Linked DNA regions of Homo sapiens: region 2 is linked to region 1. Evidence: promoter capture Hi-C in human tissues and cell types (Jung and others, 2019). All regions are on one chromosome and are shown on one strand. Each heading gives the region's core, a stretch centred on a gene start or on the middle of the fragment in contact. The rest is flanking DNA. Distances are from core to core; before and after follow the strand shown.

What was found. The method cuts DNA at HindIII sites, captures the fragments that hold promoters and counts their contacts. A contact is called where the count stands out against the background at its distance.
Region 2: a contact is called between a fragment that was not itself captured here and the fragment with the promoter of KCNT2 in region 1, in 1 of the 25 tissues and cell types used here (adrenal gland).

The regions. Positions count from the first base shown.
Region 1 is chr1:196,604,400-196,611,183 of GRCh38, reverse strand. It overlaps KCNT2 (potassium sodium-activated channel subfamily T member 2), which reads left to right and starts at 2,744. Exons shown (of 28, transcript NM_198503.5): 1 at 2,744-2,969. The coding sequence starts at 2,875. RefSeq lists an enhancer at 1,893-2,409. The HindIII fragment of the contact is 13,382 bases long and covers 1-6,784 here.
Region 2 is chr1:196,566,267-196,573,050 of GRCh38, reverse strand. The region is part of intron 1 of KCNT2 (potassium sodium-activated channel subfamily T member 2); the gene reads left to right. Among named protein-coding and RNA genes, the nearest start is that of MIR4735, 13 kb to the left of the region's middle. The HindIII fragment of the contact is 3,657 bases long and covers 1,383-5,039 here.

The sequences.
Region 1 (6,784 bases), core at 1,495-3,994:
ATTCAAATTGTCTCCCACCGGGTCCCTCCTGCAACCCATGGGAATTATAGGAGTACAATTCAAGATGAGATTTGGGTGGGAACACAGAGCCAAACCATATCAATAGCATTTCCTATAATACATTATTCTTCTAATTTTCTTAAGTTTATAGTAAAAAAAATTCACTTGGACAATTTCAAGACACACCAGAGAATCAAAATATCATCAATGTGGTAGTTTCCAATTGGTTGCCCTGAGCACATTACTTTGTATAGTTTGTATCCATAATGGCACACAGTATTAGCTGAGTAGGTTTTTTCTTATTTATTTATTTTTAATGTACTATTTGTTCTCTCCTAAACTTTTATCTGAGTATTTGGAAGCCAAATGACTAAGATTTTCACAAAAGGTAAAATAGAGGCACATAGCTTTCTTTTAAGTAAAATGTTACTTTACCCTCTAACCTCCAGCATCCCAGGACTAACAATCGATTGCTATTTTTTTTCTTTTTTCAGTGTCTTGATTTTTAGTCTGTTAATGATATGTAAATATTTCAGATTTTCTGTCATCCAAATAATACAGTTAGACTGTAACTATAAATATTAACTTGGAACATTACAAATAAAATTAATAGAATCATTTTAATAGGAGATGATAAGGTCTAAAATATAAACCAGATCTCTCTCTCTATCTCTATCTGTATAAACTAATAATGTAGCAATATTACTTTCTTATTTAGCAAAGTAATTACAAAAGTTCGTGCTAAATTATGATTTCATAAACAAACACATACCACAGGAGTGCAAGCATGGATGGAAAAAAACATGCTTAATTTCCTAGATTTAATAGCTTTTAATGCAACTCCACACCTATTTGTTGAAATGTGGCTATTTTGAAGGTCCCGTGCTAGAGGCAGCTAAGCCACAGGGAGAGGGGAAGAGTTGAAAGAAAAACGCACAGATAATCGTATAGCGGGTCAGGTTATAGTAAGCATTCCAGGCAAAATACTCACATGGGTTATGAAGGGTTCAAACAAAGGGGTTCAAAGGAAGAAGACATCATAAGAAGCTGGAAAAACCAAGAAATCTAATGGAGGATATGTAATTTGAGATGGGTCTGGAAGGATGAGTAGGATTTTGAAGACAGAGACAAACAGTATGACTTTTATTTCAACTGCTATTCTTCAGGTTTCAGTAGTCATTGTATTTCATTTGATGTTACAAGTTTTGGTAATTTCTTCCTTCATTTCTAGCTTCTTAAATAAACCCTCTGCTACATGACCTCTACTGAGCATTAATCATGCCAAATTAATCACTATTTTCTGGATAAGCCAAATATTCTAAAAAATCCCTATGCCTCTACTCATACTATTCTCTCTGCTTGCTTCACCTTTGCTCTTTTCCCTAAAGTAGGCTGCGAACGAATATAGAAGGCTTGGTTCATTTTCAATGTCTTCCTTGACCCCCACCTCGAAGAAGTATGTGTACCTCACAGGTATTTCCAAATCCCTCTGTATGTTCTTTGATTATTGTCTCTCACATCGTATCCATTTATCAAGGAACAAGCTTGTTCCTCCACACAGAGCGGTTCTTAAGTAAGGGCAGGAGAAGCCATATGGTTATCCTCCGGCCCAGGCTGTCAGGTGGTTGGTATTCGGTCTGTATATACTCTGATGCAATCAGTTTTTGAAGGAAAGAACGGTAAGCGCAAATAGAACCATAGCTTGTGTAGCAGGGTTCATGTAAGCAGTGGTTCTTACTGAAAAACAGACCCTGTTCTCTCGGGCTCACTTCTTCCTCCGTGTGAACCACTAATAGGAGGGGACCGAAGGCTGAGGCCAGGCCACCTGGAAGCCCACAACGCTGCTAGTAGCAGCGACAGCAGTAACAGCAACTCACCACTGTAAAATCCTCAGTGCGTTTCCATGTGCTTTCCCTGTCATCTAAATGCTTCTCTTCAGCGGCCTAAGGTGGCCCTTCTTTTTCCCCGAGTTCAGGGAAACACCTCCCTTCTTTCAGAATGTGAGAAAAAAATGGGATTTTCCTGGGGCTGAGAGTGGGGATTCCCTTTCCAGAAACGTGCAATTTTTTCATCCCGCCCACCTGGACTGAAGGCAATCAAAGCGAGGGAGCTCGTGGCATAGTGGAACACTCCAAGCACCCTGGCCCCCCTCCTCCCAGAGAAGGGTCTGGAGCCCCGCAATCCGCTAATTAGCTCGCCCCCATTGGTTGTCCCCAAGGCACCCCCGTGCCGTCACTGTGCTATGCTAATGAGGGGGAGTCTCATTGGCTGGGCCTCCAGCTCCATCTCCACAGGGAGATTGCGGGGAGAGCCGGGTTGGCCGCGTCTGGGGCCGAAACCCACCGCCCCCGATTCCCGCCAGCTCAGGGCTGTGCCGGATGCAAGCCCGCCCGAGGGAACAGTAGCCGGGAGGCTGCCCTCTGGGAGGATCTGGCAACTGCCTTTAAGGAAAGTGCTTCACCATCAAGCGGCGCTCACTCCCACCCCTCTCCCCTCTTTCTAGGCACCGCGCGTCTTTTTCGGCGAAGTAACTTTTTATACCCGCCTCCCCCTAGTCCTGGGGACCAGAGGCGGTGCCGAGCCTGGGGGCGGTTCCTTGGCAGCGTTGATTCTTGTCAGAGCCAGACTTTTGCTCCTGGGTTGGGTTTGCATCATCCCCATTACACCCTCGGGAAAGAGGAGCCAGCCCCCTTTCAAGCCTTAGCTTCCGGCTCCAAGCGGACCCCCTCCCCCTCCCTGTCCCCTTCCCCTTCTCCCATCCCTCTCTCGGCCACAGCGTCTTGTTAGTCCTCTCCCTGTACTCCGCAATATTTTCTTTCTTTCTCCCTCCTCTCCTCCATTTGTTGTTTGATGTTTCCCACTCTTTGAGGAAGGATGGTTGATTTGGAGAGCGAAGTGCCCCCTCTGCCTCCCAGGTACAGGTTTCGAGATTTGCTGCTAGGGGACCAAGGATGGCAAAACGACGACAGGTGAGTGGTGTGGTGGAGGATTGTTCTGTAAATATTGCTGAAAAAGAGACGGAAATGGGAGGGCCGAAGTGGGGAAAGGAGGGAGAAAAGGAAAACGGAGCCAGAGAGGGAGACTAGGCTGGGGGAGGGAGTAAAAGAGACTCTGATTTGTCTCTCCATTTTGACTCTATATAACTGTTGCTATAGATAAGGAACTCTTTTTCTTTACACTTTTCTTATTCTTGCAAGGTATTTATTGCATTCATTTGGTGCTTATTCTTTTGTCTATCTGTGCTTTTCTAGGATGTGTATAAGGCTGGTATCAGAGGTACAATACACCCAAATGGTATGCAATATCATTTCCAGAAAATTTGCATTTTTTCCTTAGGTGTGGTTAATCAAACTCAAAATTGCATGCAAGTTGTTTGAAAAAGCACATTAGAAACTTAAAATCTCCTGAGTCTATTTACCTCCTCCTTGTCTGTGTTGTCTTGAGTAGGTATCTACTTGGCACTGGAAATTTTATGCTGTTTAAACATTTTGGAGTTTTAAGTAGACAATTGGTTTAAATATGTAACAGGTAGTTAGTGAAAATGACAACCTTTTTAATACAATATACTCACTTTGAACAGGTGACTCTGACCATTATGAATAATGATGTTTGTATAACATGATACAACCTTTTCATAACTAGTATATTTTTTTAACTGAAACAGAATATATGTCTCAAAATTAAAATTAAGTTTCAAAACTAGAATATTTATTGTTAGCAAAATATTGTTCATGTGTTTTATTTATAGCATTACTGCTTTGCACAAACTTCTGAAATTCCTCTGTCTATTTCTGTCTCAAGCACATTTTGTATTTCAGCGAATTTAGTATTTTCTGGAATAGTCATCCCATATATCACATGCCACATTTCTTTGTTTTAAAATAATACATGTATACTAACTAGGTTCTCAACTCAATTGAAATGTTTCATTGAAGTTTAGTTTAGTATTGATGTGCTATTTTAGTTATATAAAAGATCCATTATTGGTCCAATCCAAAATCCCCTCCTCATTCACCACTGACCAATACACTCTATTTCTTTTCTTCACCTTTTCAGCTCCCAATACCAACTCCTGTCTCTACACACTGAGGATTTTATCTTGAGCATCAATTATGGGCATCTTGTTTGGTCTCATATTAGTAATTTGAAAGGAGATGGATGTTTTGTAGAGGATATTTTGGTTCAATCTCTTTTTTAGGCAAAACCACACATATTGGCTAAAAATTTAAAGAAGTAATACCAATTTCTCAGTATTCTTGTAAAGTGTTTGGGTAAACTGAAGATAAAGAAAATAATTTTTAAGTGAATTTGTAATACAAATTGACATTTAGATAAACTGCATTAGCCTGGTTAAATGGCTTAGTAAGTGTAGCATGGTGTTCCTAGTGACTGAATGTATATTTAGTTCAGGACCTCAGGATCATTATATAGAATAGAAATCCTCTTTGTAGAAAGTGTGAGATAGATTAAACACATAAAGCACATACTTTGGTTATAGTGATGGTATTGTTGTTTGTTTGTTTTAAATATCATATCCAATATGTTAATTTTCATGTGGTTGCCCTCATTTTTCTAAGGATGCTGCAGAAATATTTTAGTAATTAAGAATTTTGGTTAGTTGAACACTGCCTAAATGGATCAGTGCCATATTAAAAAAGTTTTGCAGAATGGTTAAAATTTTATGTTCTATTAAAAGGTTATGCTAGCCCAACTTTAACTTAAAAAGCAGGCCACATTTACTACTAAAATAAGTTATTAAATATTTAAAACAATCATTCAACCATTTTTAAGGATTTGGCTACTTTTGTGGCTTCATGGAAAACTATTCTTTGGTTTTGGTTCCATTTGTTGTTAATCTTTGAAGGCAAGATACTTGGAATCAGAGAAACCCAGATTCAGTCCTTGGCTGTTTCCTTCACTAGCTGAGTGGCCTTGGGAAAGTCATTCAGCCATTATGAGATTCAGCAATATTATTTTTTATAATGGGAATTATACTGTCTACCTTATAAAACTGTGACAAGAGGAAGGATGGAGAGGCGCAGAACTAACATTTAGTTGGAAATAAGTACTCCCAAGTTCTTTTAACTGTGCGGTATGTTCTTTCTTAGTTAATCCTCAGACAAACTCTGAATAGCAGGCAATTATGTTAGGCACAAGGAAACTGAAATTTTGGTAAATTAAATACGTGTCTTGGATATTATATCTTATCAGTGTAAAGATAACTCTTCAGTTCAGTTTATTATTATTCAAATCCCTCAAGAAATTCTTAAGTTCTTTTCACTTAATTTATTTGAACTTATAAGAATAATTTACAGCACCTAGCATAGTTTAGGTGCTCATTAAATATTAGTTCCCTTCTTCACTTCTGATTTGCCCTTTGCAATCCTTTTTTTCTCCCTTTTCAGACTCCTAAGCTAATATGTGGTAGGTAAAGTCATCTTCCTTGTCTATAATATGGTGACAAATTCCTCTTTGCAATTACGCCTGGATAGCAATCTCATTCTACTCAGTTATCTTCTTGGACTCAATTCTTATAGAGTTGAGGAGGAAGCCCTCTTTCATGTAGGAGTAGGTAGATCATTTCCAACAACAGATACATTTAGTGCTCTGCCCATATTCTCAAAGCAACTTTCTTTGAACACCTCCTGCATGAGGTTTTCTCCCCACCACCAACCTCAGGTGCATCCAAGTCCTGCTTGGAGAACAAGCTGGAGTGTCACTGAGTAAATAGGCTGTTTCTGAATCAATACTTTTGCTTCCTTGCTCCTTAGCTTGGAGAATTCTGAAGCATGTTCTACACTGTGTCCAAAGGGACTGAGCTCCACTTGCCCGCAGTGATAACTGGCTTAATACTGAAAGCTTTATTGGCTTCTGTCTCTCTTCTCCCCTACTGGTATTTTATCTGTGATCAATTCCCAAATGAACTGCTTTTGCTGCAATCCTATCTCAAGCTTACCTTCTGGGAGAATCTGCATCAAGATAGCTGTTTTCTGGATGTAGAGAGCCACATCCTTGTAATGATGGGGGAATTGTGTTCCAAATGTAGGAGTATAAACACTTTCTACCTTGTTCCTCACTGTAAGAATTTCAAACTCCATCTTAGGTCATAGTTGACTGGCACATGAAAATGAATGAAGCATATGATAGATGCTCAAATGGGTGTTGTTAAAGACATAATATTGATGGGCCTATTAGGTGTAGGAAATGTGTATTCCATACCATAGATTTTCTGTGAATCAACTTTGGATAAGTAGGTCATCTAAATTTATATTGTGCCACCTTTTGTGTAGGTAAAAACACATACACATACACTGGCATAATGTACATGTAATGTATATAGTGTATATGTAACAGATATGCATTGCTTTTGTAATATATGTATTATAAAATATTGTATATTGTATGCTAAAATTGTATATTATGTAATGCATCATATATTACAAATATGTGATTAATAATATATATTATAATATATGTAATGAATAGATATGTCTTTGTATTATCTTTACGCCATCCTTAGATAATTGCTTCTCTCTCATTTGCACTCTGATATCCTTTTCTGAGTAGGACATATGGGAATAGGGTTAGACACAGCAGTGCAGAGAATTTAGCACATGGATAACACTACTTCTGTGAGGCCATGAAATAAATTTGAGTTGCTAAATGAGAATATTGCTTATGTGTAGGGATGTCTTTTGTATATATGATGCACACTTACTTGTTTGACATCCTGAGCAAAAAACAAAAATCTAATTCAAGTGGTTTGTATGATATGTCTTTAATG
Region 2 (6,784 bases), core at 1,962-4,461, 39 kb after region 1:
CCAATTCAAAACCATCCAAATTTTTTAAAATCCCGAAGAGACAAGGCCTGCCTTGGTTAACAATAGCTTATTTTATCCTAGCATCTATTTAAACCTGAGACACTAGAGTCCCTTTCTATTTTCTTCTCCATGTATATGGAGTAGAACTCATTAAAGTTTTCTGAGAAGCAGGTAAGTGTCATCATGCATCAAGAAACAACTGGAAATTATATGTTAGACATTCTTACTCCATAAAAGCTTTTGCAGCAACTCTTCTGTTGTTGGTTCCTATGCGTTAATTCATTCTACAAAGTTCCTCAGTAAATGTTCTCCTCTTCATCAGATTTTATTGAAAGTCTACATTAACCTACTATCTAAATGCATCATAGTACTCAATAAAATATAGCAACTTTTCAATAATAGTATCCATCACCCTTAGAAAGCCTTTGCATTCCATGATAATGATGACCTACAAGTAATCCCACCCAAAGTGGTGATAGTGAATAGGAATTGCTGACAAAATGGCAAAACGTATGCAGTTCTCTCTTTTGAATACTTTTTCCTTAGCCTTCTCTGATTCACTTCATTGCACTCTCTCTCTCTTTATCTCCTAGAAAGCCAAGATTAAGACATCTAAGTTTCCTTTTTGTGTGTTGTTATCAAAGTCTGCCTTCTTTCCTAGATGCTGAGCGAGATCCTCACTCACTACTTACAGTGACTAGGTCATCACACCAACATCTACTACTACCCAAGTTTAGGCTACTACTCTTGAGCTGGAGGATCTTATGCCAGGTGGAGATTTCCCTATACTGAGAGAAGTTCCAGGTCTCTAGTGGATCTTCATATTGAATCCAAAACTTGAACTGGCAAGGTTTAATTTTGGTGAGAAGGTTGGATGAATTCTCAGAATATGTCACTACCTTACTCTCTTATTTTATAGCCAAGGTTTGCTACCATTTGGAAGAGATGAAATGGTGAACAGCATGTGCTCATGAGCATTTCTCAGTAGAATCTGAGCCTTATGTGAGACAAGAGGACAAAGGTGTACATAGAACCATTTCTTTCATGGTATTGAGAGGTTGCCTTTCAGGTCCTGCTTCTTACTTTTAAAACCTCCTTTAAGCAGATTTTAACACCTGCACAATCAAGGTCATATTTTCAGAATGGAAGCACATTACCAAATATATATACCATTTCTACTGCTGAAATAAAACAACTGATATTTCTGTTTCATGAAATCTCAAGAACTCACATCACTTCTCCATGAACACACCTCATTCTCTACTGAGCTGACCCTTTCTGTGGAAGAATTTCTGCATGTCTAGGGGAATAATGAATCTGCTGGATCTCTGGAAACATAGATCTCAGAAGCCCTATATCTTCCCCTGAATTTGTACCATTTGGACTCTAGTTTGATATGCATTAGGGCATGATTGATCTGTTGATCACAATTACCTTGTTTATAGACAAGTGTTCCACAATAGAGGTAAACTAATCAATATGGTTAATGACCAGGAATCCAGATGTCTTTTAAGAACAATTTTGACTTGTATTGACAAACTAACTTAACTTCAGTCCCTTGGAGATCAAAAATTGCACATGAAAGGGCTTCTTATATTCATTCTCACATTTCTTTCAGCTCTCTGTTTCAGTTGGATTTCAATGCTATTATATTCTGGGATGTTTTCTGAAGATAGCCTTACCTCTCTCATTCTTTCTCCTTTAGAATATCTTGGGCACAGAAAAGTTTGGGGAATTTTTCAGTTCTTGTCTCATGCTGCCTAAATTCTTCCAACAGATACTGTAAATGGACCCCTAAGCATTTTTTTCTAATTGAACTTATTCCTCTATTTTCTGTTTAATGCTAATATGCCATCCATATCTTTGCAAAAATATCTATTCTTAAAACATCTATTATTTCAACAAATATGTGTTGAGCATGTCTCAGGTACTATGAGATACTATTTAATGTGTTGAAGTCATACAAAATAAGTAAAGATTTCTGCCTTTATGGGGCTTACTTCTTAGTGGGGAGGGGAAGATGAACTAATATAGGTAGTCTGCCATATGGGACATATTAGAACAGTGTGGTAGGAGTAGGCCAGGAGAGTGAGCTGTCTGTTCATGTAACTTACTTGTGCCTTAATGGCACTTATGTTAGAGGAAATAAAGACTTGATTTTTTAGTGGAATAGGTCAGATGCAGCTAGTTAGTTATGGGCAACTGTTTTTTAATTGTTTATTAAGATGAACTCTCTGTGTTCTGTGGTCAGACCTTTAATCTTCATCAAGATCCAGTAGCAAGTAAGAATCTATCTAGCTGTTTCTGAAAAGGACAGTAGTTACTCACCTAAGAAGTGAGAATCCTAGGCATCCCCATTATGTTCTTTTTATGAAGGCTTGTATATTCTGTATAGCACCCTAATCTGCTGTAGACTCTTTGAGTATCATTGCATCTGCCAGTTTATAACATGTATAAAGTATTTCTTGTTTAGAGAATCCTACTTTGAGTAGGATTAGAGTAGGATTCTCTACTCATAGTTTCAAGCTTTTCAGTTTACTTGGTATTGTGTCAGAGTATAACACCAATATGTGATATGAAAGTGTTGGGATGAGGTTCCCACAAGTATGTCTAACTCTCTTCCTTTGCACATTTTCAGATTCTTTTCTTTATATTGTGATACAGTTTTTTCCAATTGTTTTAAAGTCAGGTTTACTCAGGCAAAATTAAAATTATGTAATCAAATGCACTGTGAAAATCTACCAACACATAATTTAAAAAAATTAAACAATAAGAATATCAAATTCCAACAATTCCTCAAATTGGGATTATTTCATACTTACTGCATTTCACCCAAAAAGCAGGTTATTCTTGCTGTTGTTACTGTTTTTGGTTGCTTTTAGTGGAATGAAGTGTTGTCTCAAATGTCCTTGCCTATCATTACACAAAGCCTCCATACTCAAAGGCCTTTAATTTTTTTTTTTTTTTTTTTTTTTTTTTTTTTACTCTAGCTCAAGCTTCCTGGACTCAGGAGGCTTTTTGTTGGTTAGAACTTCTTAGCATAGCAGAAGTTTCCTGTAGCCCTTGAGTGACTTTGGTTAACTTGGTTGAAAATTTCCCCCAATCTCTACACCTTTCTTCACCCCTAGAAGTTGTTTATCTACCTCATAATCAAAACAAAAGCATGCCTTTATTTTTAATAGAAATTTCTAGCAGCATATGTAATCTTAGTCTTTTAGCTTTCTTTCCAATCTGGCCAATTTGGGCGAACATAAACCCCAGTTGCTTAGGTATGAATAGGGACTTGCAGTATGAGGGCTGCCATTCTCTTCCTTCAGCCCTGCCTTTCCTGTTATCCTTTTGAATTAATTTCATTAACAAAATGAATTCAGAGGGTTTTTTTTAGCTCTCTCCAGAAGTCTGAACTCCCTCAGCACTGTTTTGCCATAAATAGCTATAGCAGTAAGTTGTTCCAAATGATCCTGAAGAAATCTATAAAATTTAACTGGTACATATCAAATAGAGACTGAAACAAATGAAATGATAGCTTTATCCTAATGTTGTGACCAAATATCAGATAAATTCACAGCTTTATTTCAATCCCAATAAAAGTTAAATATTTTTTATTGAAAATCAACATAACACTATCAAATTAATCTGAAACATAAATGTTGAGAATATGAGGTCATTTTTAAAAATAGGAACAGACACTGCCAAATATTAAGGCATATTTTAAAAAGACAATGTGTTTTTTAAAAAATATTTTATTCAAAGTAAATTTAGAAATTATTAAAACAATATGATCCTGAAATGATAGGAAGTTAACTTGCAGTTAGAACTTGCAGTTAGAAGTAATCAATTAACTTGAAAGAAATAAATTAAAAAATATAACAACATAAAAATCAAATTAACTTAAAATTTTTCAACAGATTAAGAGGCTAAATTAAAATAAAATCTTAGAAAAAGTAGGAGAAAGTAGAAATTGATATTTAAGATATCAAGAAAAGGATGGAAATCCTTTAGGAATAAATTTGTAATAGCAATGATTCACACTCACAGCAATGATGAGTGACTCCTGCCTCATCCATTGTCCTGGATTATTGCTTCTTTAAAGGAACAGAAAGTTATCACAAGAGAGCACATCAATAGATTTTACCGTACAGAGTTCTTTGAACCAACAGCTATGAATTTTTTCTCTGTGTGCCAAGCATAGTGTCTTTCTGGCATGCATTCAACCAGTATTTACTATTTGCTTCAATTATGTTGGAACCTGGAGAGAAAAAAAAAAAAAGCTCATTATTAACATAAACCAGGGGTCCCCAGCCTCAGGACCACTGACCAATACTGGTCTGTGGCCTGTTAGGAACAGCGCCACACAGCAGGAGGTGAGTTGCCAGAAAAAGAGCATTACCACCTGAGCTCCGCCTCCTGTCAGATCTGTGGTGGCGTGTTTTTCTTTTCTTTTTTTTTTTTTTTGAGACGGAGTCTAGCCCTGTCGCCCAGGCTGGAGTGCAGTGGCGCGATCTCTGCTCACTGCAAGCTCCGCTTCCCGGGTTCACTCCATTTTCCTGCCTCAGGCTTCCGTGTAGCTGGGACTATAGGCGCCGGCCACCACACCCGGCTAATTTTTTGTATTTTGTTTAGTAGAGACGGGGTTTCACCGTGTTAGCCAGGATGGGCTCGATCTCCTTATCTCGTGATCCGCCCGCCTCGGCCTCCCAAAGTGCTGGGATTACAGATGTGAGCCACCGTCCTGGCCATGTGGCATTAGATTTTTATAGAAGGGCGAACCCTATGTGAACTGCACATACAAGGGATCTAGGTTGCGAGCTCCTTATGAGAATCTGATGCCTGATGATCTGGGGTGGAACAGTTTCATCCCGAAACCATCTCTACCACCATTTGTCTTTCATGAAACTAGTCTCTGGTGCCAAAAAGGTTGGGGACCGTTGACATAAATAACACACTTTAATGTGTGGTAAATGCAGATGGAGATTTACTGGGTATTAAGAGAGAGCAGACAAAAGATACTTAACCCAGTTGAGATCAAGTCTTAGGATTTTTTGGTTTTGTTTCATTGCTTCCTTAGAGGTGATGACTTCTATGCTGCAATATTAGAGCTGCTAAGAATTGTGAAAAAGACCCCAAGCACATAAATTGAAACCTAATGCTAAAGGCAGAGTGTTATCCTGAAGGCAATCAAAGTATTGGATAAAGAAAGGTTCCAGTACTGAGGGATAGTTAGAGATGTAAATGCTGTTCAGCAATTCTGCTGCTGTTTTCCATATCCTATTTCCTACATAAGCCCTTTTGAAATGCTCTCTTCTCTCCTCAGCCGTCCTTCACCACCTTTATCTCTTTCTCCACAGAACATCTAACTTTTCACTTCAGGGATGTGACAGAAGCCATCACACAGAAGAACTCCCTTAAGTTCTTGTAACAACATCTAAATGAACATAGTCCCATGTGAATTGCTCATGACAAAAGTAAGAGCTATTCTTCCAGATAATGAATAATATGCCTTCTCTGGACCTCATCTTTTGTACTTCCTGATGGATCCCAACCATCAGTTATCCATCCTGTTTCTAAAAATTATGAAAGAAAAAATAGAAGATCCGAGATTTATGCTGACAACAGCACTTGCTATTCAACCTTATCATGCAGGGACTTAAATGCAATGTGATCAGAAGGTTAGACTTCAGGGAGGAGTGGACATTTGATCTTTGCCCTTGACAGATAAGGAGATTTTGATGAGGTTACACTGAGAAGAAAGCATAGTGGTCTAGTAGATGGAAGAGGGCATAGGAAAGAGAGTTGTGTTCAAGAAATGCTACATAGTCTAGTGTAGATTATTTAAAACATTAACGTTCAAGTAGAGGAGGAGTGAGAGATATGGCTGAAATATAGAGTGAACTGTTCTATAATGGACCATGGTAATTAAGGAATTCATATTTAATTTTGTAATTAATATGCATCAAGTAAAGTTTTTGATTAAGAACTATATAGATAATAACTTTCAACTGATGTCATATGATTCTTGCATTTATTTGTGTATTTATTGATGCATTTTAGTACATATTTGAGTTTATAGATCTTGTTTGTATTTGTTGATTGATTTTGCAAGGTATTATATGAAACATTTGAAGTATATAATGAAAACCTAGCAAGATTTTTATCTTGGCTTAAAAAACAATCTTGTAATAGAATAAAGTACTAAATCTAATAATTTATTTATATGCCTTCTATACTTTTCTCCTGGAAGGTACCCATATTAACTTGACATCTTTATAAGGCATTCATTTGCCACATTTTGCTATGGTGATATACAAAATTTCCTTCTTATTTCTGAAGCAATGTCCTTTAAATAACTTTGTTACTTGGTACTAGCATGGTAAAACTATAAAAACAGTTTATTCATTGTGAAACTATGGGTAAACTTCCATTTAGTTTTCATAAAATTTTCCTTTTTGTCCATTCTCTCTCCCACCACCTTAATCTACCTTTTACTACTTCACACCTGACGTATGGAGAGGGCCTCCCAAGATGTTACTTTCCTTTTCCAACCCATTTGATTAATCTTGCACACAATTGCCATGTTCCTACTCATAAACATATCTTTGAATATGTCATTTCTTATTGAAACAATTTTTATTGTGTATCCCCATTCCTTCTTCATGACTGAAAAGACACAATCTAAACTTTGCAACTTAACATTCAAAAACCACCAATTATGACACCAAATTGCCTATGTAATCACTCAAACTGCTTTATTCAGGTCACTGTGCCCTTTGCTGCTTTGTTACTT